Regions from separate parts of the Homo sapiens genome. Here region 1 is linked to region 2. Evidence: promoter capture Hi-C in human tissues and cell types (Jung and others, 2019). All regions are on one chromosome and are shown on one strand. The core of a region is centred on a gene start or on the middle of the fragment in contact, and the rest is flanking DNA. Distances in the headings are between cores, read along the strand shown.

Region 1 (4,887 bases), core at 119-2,618, 610 kb after region 2:
GTTAAGAGAAGTTTGCCTCCCCTCTCTCTCACCCACCCCTCACCTTGGACTCTTCGCCAACATCCACAGACATACCCTAGGAACCTCATTCTCTCATTCTGGCCTAGTTTCTCCCTTTAAAAAAAGAAACAAAAGTTCAAATTCAAATGCACTTAGATGTAAATGAATTCATACATCACTCCTGCTCATGAAATCTACAGGGAACACTCATATTAGATCCACAAGAATGAACCTGAGTAGTGTAATTTGGACCATATAAAATCTGAGCAGGTGGGAGACTTGGGGTTCAGGGCTACTTCCAGCCCCTCCTCAGAAACCACACTCCAGCGTGATGCAAATCCTGCTGGCTTCTACTTCTGATCACAGAGAAGGTGCAGCGTTCCTTGGTTCTGTCTTCACTTCAAAACCTCCTGCTTTATAAAAAATTAGCTGGAGGGCTAGGCATGGTGGCTCATCCCTGTAATGCCAGCACTTTAGGAGGCCAGTAGTTTGGGGCCAGCCTGGACAACAAAGAGAGATCCAGTCTCCACAAGAAAATTTAAAAATTAGCTGGGTGAGTGGCACATGCCCCTAAGTCCTAGCTACTCAGGAGGCTGAGGCATGAGGATTGCTTGAGCCCAGGAGTTAGAGACTGCAGTGAGCTATGATCATGCCACTACACTCCAGCCTGAGTGATGGAGTGAGACCCTATCTCTAAAAAGAAAAGAAAATCTCCTCCTTTTCTAAGTTGTTTTGGCCAAAAGCCAGGTTATAGTTCTGCTTGGTTTATCCATCAGAAATGGGCTGGGTTTTTAGATACACGAAATCACAAGGGGAGGGGGAAATAATGCCTTTGGGTTTTAGGAAATCGGGAACCAGAGAGCTCATGACATTTTCTTTTCTTTTCTTTTCTTTTGTTTTTGAGATGGAGTTTCGCTCTTGTTTCTCAGGCTGGAGTACAATGGCACGATCTCGGCTCACCGCAACCTCTGCCTCCCAGTTCAAGGGATTCTCCTGCCTCAGCCTCCCGAGTAGCTGGGATTACAGGCATGTGCCACCATGCCCGGCTAATTTTGTATTTTTAGTAGAGACGGGGTCTCTCCATGTTGGTCAGGCTGGTCTCAAACTCCGGACCTCAGGTGATCCGCCCGCCTCGGCCTCCCAAAGTGTTGGGATTACAGGTGCGAGCCACAGCGCCCGGCCATGACATTTTCAAATTCCTTCTCCCTGAGTCAAGATTCAGAGCTCATTGCTCCCTTCTTGGAATACAGCCCTCCACCTCACTCCCAGATGCAATAAGCATTCTCAGGGGCCCAAGAGCAGATGGGCTCTTCTTTGCTAATGCTTTTTAAAGGCAGGGAGTAGAACAATGGCAAATGGTGACATCTGGTGGAAATCCAAGCACTGCAGCACTTCGAACCAGTGCGACTTGAGGCTCAGTTGTAACTAACTGAAGTCTGAGTACTTGAAGATGTCCTTTTTTACCAAGTGAAAAGCTCAGTGATATCACCCTTTTGGCTGACACAGGTACACCCTGCCACCAAGCAAGATGATGACATAAAGGGCAATGTCTTTGAAATGCCAAGAATTGGTTTTTGAATTCAGGTCTAAGTTGTATTTCATTCTCTGAGTCTTTGTTTTATCTTTTTTTTTTTTTTTTTTTGGCAGAGTCTCACTTTGCCACCCAGGCTGGAGTGCAATGGCGCCAACTCGGCTCACTGCAACCTCTGCTTCCCCGGTTCAAGCAATTCTCCTGTCTCAGCCTCCCAAGTACCTGGGACTACAGGCTCATGCCACCACACCCAGCTAATTTGTATGTATTTTTAGTAGAGACAGGGTTTCACCATGTTAGCCAGGATGGTCTCAATCTCCTGACCTCGTGATCTGCCTTCCTCGGCCTCCCAAAGTGGTGGGATTACAGGCATGACATTTTATCTTCTATAAAATCAAGACAATAATACTTTTCACATTCAATTTGAATGGTTGCTTTGAAAAAATCAAATGAGACAAGGCATGTAAAAATGCTGGTAAACTATAAAGACATGGGCTTTTTTAAAAAACTCAGATCATGGTGGCTCACACCTGTAATCCCAGCACTTTGGGAGGCCAAGGCAGGTGGATCACTTGAGGTCGATCAGGAGTTCAAGACCAGCCTGGCCAACATGGTGAAACCCCGTCTCTACAAAAATACAAAAAAAAAATCAGCTGGGCATGATGGCGGGTGCCTGTAATCCCAGCTACTCGGGAGGCTGAGGCAGGAGAATAGCTTGAACCCAGGAGTTGGAGGTTGCAGTGAGCTGAGATTGTGCCATTGCACTCCAGCCTGGCGATAGAGCAAGACTCCATGAAAAAAAAAAAAAAAAAAAAACTCAGATACTTTGAGTTTTTCTTTTAAAAGCCTGCATCGGTGAGTCCAGCTTTCCATTAGCCCTGTGCTGCCTCCCGGGAACCCCTTGGAATCCTATGGGCTGGGTTTGTAGCCAGTTTCTCCCATAATAGTTGTTAATCTAGTTATCTCCATCTGCAGATGGACCTCGTACATAGTGGGCACAGAGTAAGAGCCCAGTTAATATTGATTGGCCAGTTGATTAGTAGATATAGAAATGCATTATTTCCCTAATTTTTTTCCACCATGTGGATGAAACAAGATTTCATCTGATTAAGGTCAGAGATCATATGGTATTTCTTGATGTCTTCAAACTGAAATTGTTAAAATCTTTCTTCAGACAAATGTTTCATATGCCCTGAAAGAAATTAATGACAGTTAAGAATTCTGAATGGCCCCTAAAATGTTTCATATCAAGGCAGTGCCAACCTCCAACTTCCCCAAGAAAACATCCCCTTTAAAATGCCAAGCAAAGCAGTCTAATTCAGTCGCGTCCAACTCAAAGAAATCAATGCCCGCTAACAAGTTCTCCCAGCAGCCAGGCCAGAGGAGGGAGAAAGCCTTAGAACGACAGGGCCCCGCATGGCCTGAACGAGGCTCACACAAAGCCTGGTTTATTAGGAACCACTGGAAAAGCTATAAAGCCCAGGCAGCCTTCCTGGGCCTGTCACAAATTGTCCACTTTGGAGAGAACAATGTCTTCCCTGTTCTTGCCGTCTTGTTTGTTGATTTTCAGGCTCCATCAGTGTGAAATTGAGAGATCCGGCCCAGGTCCGTGGGGACAAATGGAGTGGCCCTCTTGTGTCAGGCCTTCTCTGAACATCCATTTTAACAAACCTCATACCTTCAGGGTCTACTCATGCAATTGCTGCAGCCTCTATCCCACAGTTTCTCGCCTCTGTAATTGAGAAAGAGATGAGATGCATTGTTTAGAAATGTAAAACCACATCTATCAAAAAACATTTTTATTACAAAAGTGTTAGACATAATAGCATAATAAAACCGTATGTGCCCATTACCCAGCTTCAACAATTATCAACTCCAGATCATGACATTTCAAAGTTCATTCATTTAACAGATATTCATTAAGTACATGTTATATCCCAGTACTGCTTAGGTTTTTTTGTGGGGGTTTTTTGTTTGTTTGTTTGTTTTTGAGACAGAGTTTGCCCTCTCGCCCAGGCTGGCATGCAGCGGTGTGATCTCAGCTCACTGCAACCTCTGCCTCCTGGGCTCAAGCTGTTCTCATGCCTCAGCCTCCTGAGTAGCTGAGATGACAGGTGTGCACCACCATGCCCAGCTAATTTTATCCATTTTTAGTGGAGATGGGGCTTCTCTGTTTTGGCCAGGCTGGTCTTGAACTCCTGGCCTCAAGTGATCTACCTGCCTCAATGTTCCAAAGTACTGGATTACAGGCATGAACCATTGTGCCTGGCCAACTGCTTAGGGTTTTGAGACACAGGTCTGAATATTGCAAAGTCCTGAGGCTCACAGAGCTCAGAGCCTGATGGGAAAACAGACTATCACAATACAGAGCATGCAGGCAACCCCAACGTGAGAGAGCTTCCTGAGGGAAATGGCATCTAAGCTGAGACTTGAAGGATAAATAGGAGAGGAGATTGCCCTGGGAGAGAAGAAGAGGTAACTGGAGAGGGGAGTGATTCAGGCAGAAGCAGCAGCTGACACAAAGTCCCAGGAATGAGAATGAACAAGGAAATTTTAGGAACGGAAGGAACATGAATGTATGGTGCTTTGAGTACCAAGGAATAGGTGACAGAAAGATGGGTAGACAGAGTACACATCAGCAAATCGCAGAAGGTCTTCTATGCCATGTGAAGTCACTTGAACTTCATCCTGCAGAGAAATGATGAGCCCCTGTGAGGCTAAAAGGAAGGGAAGAGAAGGACACATTTACCTCTTTTTTTTTTTTTGAGTCTTGCTCTGTCACCCAGGCTAGAGTGCAGTGGCACAATCTCGGCTCACTGCAACCTCCGCCTCCCAGGTTCAAGCAATTCTCCTGCCTCAGCCTCCCAAGTAGCTGGGATTACAGGAGGCACCCACCATCACACGCCTGGCTAATTTTTGTATTTTTAGTAGAGACGGGGTTTCACCATTTTGGCCAGACTGGTCTTGAACTCCTGACCTTAGGTGATCCACCTGCCTCGGCCTCTCAAAGTTCTGGGATTACAGGCTTGAGCTACTTAGCCCAGCCTCACATTTACCTTTTAGAAAGATCCCTCATCTGTAACGTGGGGAATGGAGTGGGGTGGGCAGAGGCGCCGTGTAGGTGCAAAGGCTGGAACTGTTAAGGAGGCCACTATAATTTAATTAAGAGAGCTGGGAAGTAACTGTGGGGATGTTGAGAAGTGCATGCTTGGGGAGGCAGGTTGGCTCTCGCTGGGGATTATGCTCTGCTTCCTCTGTAAGGTGGAAGGTTTGGGGTTTGGACGTGTGTGTGTCCTAAGAGAGGGCATTGGAGACTGATTACGTATCAGAGAATGGGCCCCATGCTGAACCCAAAC
Region 2 (4,965 bases), core at 1,838-4,337:
TCTCTCTGATCTTCAGTCTCTTCATTTCCTAAGATAAATAAACCCAAGTACATCAATTCTTCTTCAAAGGTTTTATTTTTCAATCCTTGAACCATCTATCATTATGAAATAATACTAAATACTCCTTTTCCTTCTTAGCTATAGACTTGAGTGAACTAGGTTCACTAGACATTAACCTTTTACTTGTGAAGACCTTAAAATGTATGTGCTCTAGCCATAAGTGAACTAGATAGATTTCAGTAGGTTGGTACTCCAGGATGGCAGTAGAACTCTTCGCTTTTCATTCATCATCAAACGTAACCTTTAAGTATTGGGAGGTGGGAGAATGGAGAATGATGTATGTGAACTATCCAACTTCTTTTATATTTTTAGCTGAACTTATCCCCTTATAACACACTTTAGTGTTGGATATATTTGGGAAATCTATCCATTAAAAATCCTAGCTAATCTACAGGATTTTTTTTTCCTTCTTACATGTCAAATGTTCCCCATGGAGTTATATTTGCACATAACATCTAAATGTTATTTTAGGATTCTTCATTCTTTTTAATCCTAGTCTGCAAAAGGTTGTAGAGCAACTACAAAGCTCTTTTCAAACTGCAGACTTCAGGGGCTCATTCAAATAACAATATGTATCTGTTTTACTTGAGCACCTAAATATGATATGGGTAGAAACAGAGCTATTTTTTTTCCTAGAGCTTTCTTTTGCTTAACAATGTTTCTATTACCCCACCACCAAATAAATAGCTTCTGTACCAAAGATCTCCTAAAATTTTTAATTAAAATTTAGAATACAGTTGTCTTTTCTTTTGTCTAATTGTCTCTTTAGTGGAGGCCAGCCCTGAGATTACTAATGACTTGGACAAACAATTTAATTTTAAAATATTCCTTCCTTCTATAACCTTTACTCATCATGGATAGAATTCCTGCGAAATGCAATAGGCAATTATGAAAACCAAGGGCACCAAGCTATAAACACTAGTTGTTGATGAAATGAGCTTTATAATATGTGTTTGGCGACTTAAATGATGGTTTTTAATGTCAGAGCATACATAGGAATAAAAGACCTGACATTCTCAAGCAAAAAAGTAAAAATAAAAATAAAGCAGTATTTTATTATGATAATTTTCCAAGAGAAACATTTATGCTACCATTCATGATATGGTTGTTAAAGTTCATAATAAATAAATGGCCTGTTTCAAAACTAAAATCAAGCTTAAAAAAAATCAGCTATTCATCGTTTCAGAGTCCCTAGCCAGGGTGACTTGCATCCCGCCCTTATTTCATAGAGACTTCTCAAAGGAACACAAGCTTCCTACTCCCTCTCACAGGTGTGTTGACAAAGCTCTAGTGCTCCCAGAAAAGGAAACACATCTATCTTAAGAAAAGTGCAGAACAAAGTTAGGTTTTCCTTTTCTTGTTTTTCTTTCTTAAAGTCAGAATCACTTTGCTTACCAAAAAATTAGCATATATGTGGATATTGGGATACTTATTATTGGAAGTTGACTTGAAGAAATTTCCACACACACACACACACACACACACACACACAAATAAAACCTTCAATTTCTCATGGTGAAAAAAACAGCGAAGTAGTTTTTGAAAATCTCCACAGGCCATGTTTTAGAGGATAAATATTATTTACTGATATTCCTAACAAATGGGATGCCATTTGATACTAAAAAGGCTCATATATGCATATCAACAACGCTAGAGCATATATCAGGTTTTGTTTCATAAGCCAAAACACCAGTCTGAGGAGTCCCAGGAAATTCGGAATTATCTTCAGTGCATTGGGTGGGCTTGAAATTTATCTTAAGAAATATTTGCAAAGGGCATAACAAAGTGCTCCAAACTGGCGCAGGCAAATGGATTAGTTCCTTTACCAGGAACCCCTGACCCTGTTGTCAGCACCCTGGCACCTTGCCCTGCGCATAGAGTTTTCAGCAGAAACACTGGGCCCTAGGGTGGGGTCGGGGGGTTACTCTGAAATCTTCCAGACGCCCCTGGCCGCTCGGATTCGCCTGTGTGAACCTCTCAGCACTCCACCAAAAACTCCCAGAAAATCCTTCACCTCTTCTAGGAAGCCACCCTGTAGCATTTCCAGGATCCTTCACGGAACAGAGTCCCCACCACCTGGCTGGCTGCCCCCACTGCTGCTCCAGTGGCGGGGCCTGACCCTCACTCCCTGCCCCGCCCAGCCCCCAGCGCTGCGCTGTCCCCGCGCTCACCGGATGATCACGAACATGACCAGCGAGTTGCCCACCAAGCCCACGACGAACACTACGGAGTAGACCGCCGTGATGATGACCGGGATGGCCGGGGAGATGTGCGCGGGCTCCAGCTGCGCGTCCTCCGAGCCGGCGCTGCCGTTGCTGTCGGGCTCGGCCCAGCCGGGAAACCAGGCGCTGCTGTTGGGGGGCAGGCAGGCGCTCGGGGCGCAGGTAGGGCCCGGCTCCCCGCGGAAGATCTGGATCGGGGAGTCCATGGTGGGGCGATTGCAGCAGGAAGGCGAGGACAGGCGGCACCTGCGGCGCTGCGGGAGCGAAAGAACCGGCTGGACGCGGAGAGGCAAACTTTGCCCGCGCCCTGGCCAGCGGCGCTGGGGACCCGGAGCCTGCGGACTCCCACCCGGGCCGCAAGTCGCCGGGGGCAGGACAGGGAGAACGGACTTCTCGCTGCCTTTCCGGCCAGCAGGCGCGCCGCTGGGTGCCAGAGAGGGGCGAAGAGCGCTCGCTCCTTCTCCCCCAGCCCCTGAGGTGCCTCCCTCACCAATTCTAGGCACCGGCCCCTGGTGGAACTGTCCCCAGACTGCCTGAGTCCCCAGGGTCAAGCCCCCTTCCCACCTCCCAGCACGGAGCTCTACCTAGAACTGCACCTCGAAAGCCCAAAGCTTACCTATGGTTCCCAGAGACAGGCGAAGGCGAGGTTTTTTACGGGACGCCCTGGTAGGTGCTGAACCGCGCGCTCACGAGTCCCGCTCAGCTCTTGGCATCACCTGCTCTCGGACCCCGGCCCCGCTCTCCGCCCGAGGGCTGCTGTTCCGCCGAGCGCAGCCCCCGCCTCTCAGCGCACGTCTCCCACTACTGGCGGCGGCTCTGCGGGGCGGGGCGGGGCGGGACCGGCGGGACGCAGCCGGGACGCGGCTGGGCGCTGGGGGCCTGCGGGCGGAGAGCTCGTCTGGTGCGCCCGCCCCAGGCCGGCAGGTCCCTGCCCCGCCCCGCCCGCCCGGAGTCAGCCCCCAGCTCCCCAGCCTCCCAGCCCCGCGTCCCCTCCAGCCCCGCAGGCTCGCCCGGCCCACTAACTGCCCGAGCGGCACACCGCCTGGTCCCCGGCCATGCAGCCTTCCCCAAGACCTGAGACTGAGCCATTTAGATTTAGTAAAAAGGAGGAGCATGCCTATTTAGTGCAAGTATGCACCTGGATTTTCATATTGTGTCTAGAACTTCTTATCTGCATAGTTCGCAGTCAGGAACTACGCTTATTAGAATGGCCCATCCAAAGAAAGTAACAAAATGATCCAGTTAGAATAAGACCAGTTCATAAAATAATGACTTAAAAGACACATAAATAGAATATTTCCTTGCGTTCTCTTCCATTCCGTCTGCTCTAACTGGGATGACAGGCTGCAGACAAACTGCACCTTACGGGTATTACCTGAATTGCTGATAGTATCTGAGAAGGGCAAAACACTCTCCTTACCCGGGCCTCAGTGGTGCTCCAGGGAGGTGACAGTGTCTCTGTTTTACATTAATCCCTGCAGCCATCACGTTCTCCTCACTTCTCCCTCACAGTAGGGCTGCCTCCATTATACGGCCGCGAATCTGAGCGTCCGTAAATAAACTGTCACCATCATTTCTTTGCAAAACTCTGCTAGTCCAAGGGTAGCTGTCAGATCCTGCTGAGTGAGAGACATTCTCTTCTCAGGCAAAGGGACCGGCAAGACACAAAGGGAGCAAGGGCTCAGCCCCTGAGGTGAAGGTTCTGAAAGGGAGTGGGGAAGTTCCCCTTCTCCACAGGGTACTGGAGACAGGCCTGGGGGAGACTGGGGGTTTAGGCACCTCAATTTCCCCAGTGGATTCACTGCCTCAGGCTGACAAACACAGGTCCCCACTGCATCCCACAGCTAATGTCCATGCCACACCTGGACACACTAATGACTGATACAGCCCTTCCCTCCATCAGCGGAGGGCAGAAGGGGGTTCCTGTCTCTTTCAAGACGCCATGACCCCAAAGTGGGATTTGACCACCAGCGTCTTGCCGCCTGGAGATGAACAACTCTTTTGAGCAGTGTAATATGAAGAGCATAAGGAAATCTTCCCTTTGTTCAACCATATCCCTTCAACCCTTTCAAATAATTTTGAAAATTATTATCAAGTCTTAGAGTTCTTTTAAGTCTGATTGCAAACTGTCATTGAAGGATCACATCTCCTTCAGTAACACATCAGACCTGCTGAGACCTCATAAGGGCCTCAGTAGTTTTATTTCATTTGAGCACTCTTACCTTTCTTGTTTACCAAATTAATGGCCAAAATAAAGGGAAGACAAAATGAACAGAGCATTGAGAAGCCCTCAGGTGGCTCAGGTTGCCAGGGGAACCCACTCGAGTCTCTAAATCCAGGAAGTATGGCTGCTTCTGTGGAGTCATGCTCTTAGGAGTATGCAATTTTATCATAATATCAGATAAAAGCTCATAAAATAGAAAGGAAAAGTAAACTGCTAAAATGCTATATACTGTTACACACTGATATAAAGCACATGTGGTTATACTTGGCCATTCTACTCAATGCAAACACTATGCTTATAACTAAGTACATGGAAAGCACTTTTAAAGATGAAAATGTGGAGATTTTTATTGGATAATGCTACAATGCTAAGGAGCATCCTGGGTAGTGGGTGGCTTTGACATTTTTGTTAGATAGACTAGATAACCCACCAGTAAATTGCAATTAACTCCCTTTCTTG

What was found. The method cuts DNA at HindIII sites, captures the fragments that hold promoters and counts their contacts. A contact is called where the count stands out against the background at its distance.
Region 1: a contact is called between a fragment that was not itself captured here and the fragment with the promoter of OPRK1 in region 2, in 1 of the 25 tissues and cell types used here (H1 embryonic stem cells).

The regions. Positions count from the first base shown.
Region 1 is chr8:53,862,105-53,866,991 of GRCh38, forward strand. It overlaps a transcript of RGS20 not described here. Among named protein-coding and RNA genes, the nearest start is that of RGS20, 16 kb to the right of the region's middle. The HindIII fragment of the contact is 5,706 bases long and covers 1-4,221 here.
Region 2 is chr8:53,248,550-53,253,514 of GRCh38, forward strand. OPRK1 (opioid receptor kappa 1) reads right to left here and starts at 3,088. Exons shown (of 4, transcript NM_000912.5): 1 at 2,899-3,088; 2 at 2,232-2,536. The coding sequence starts at 2,488. The HindIII fragment of the contact is 8,793 bases long and covers 2,103-4,965 here.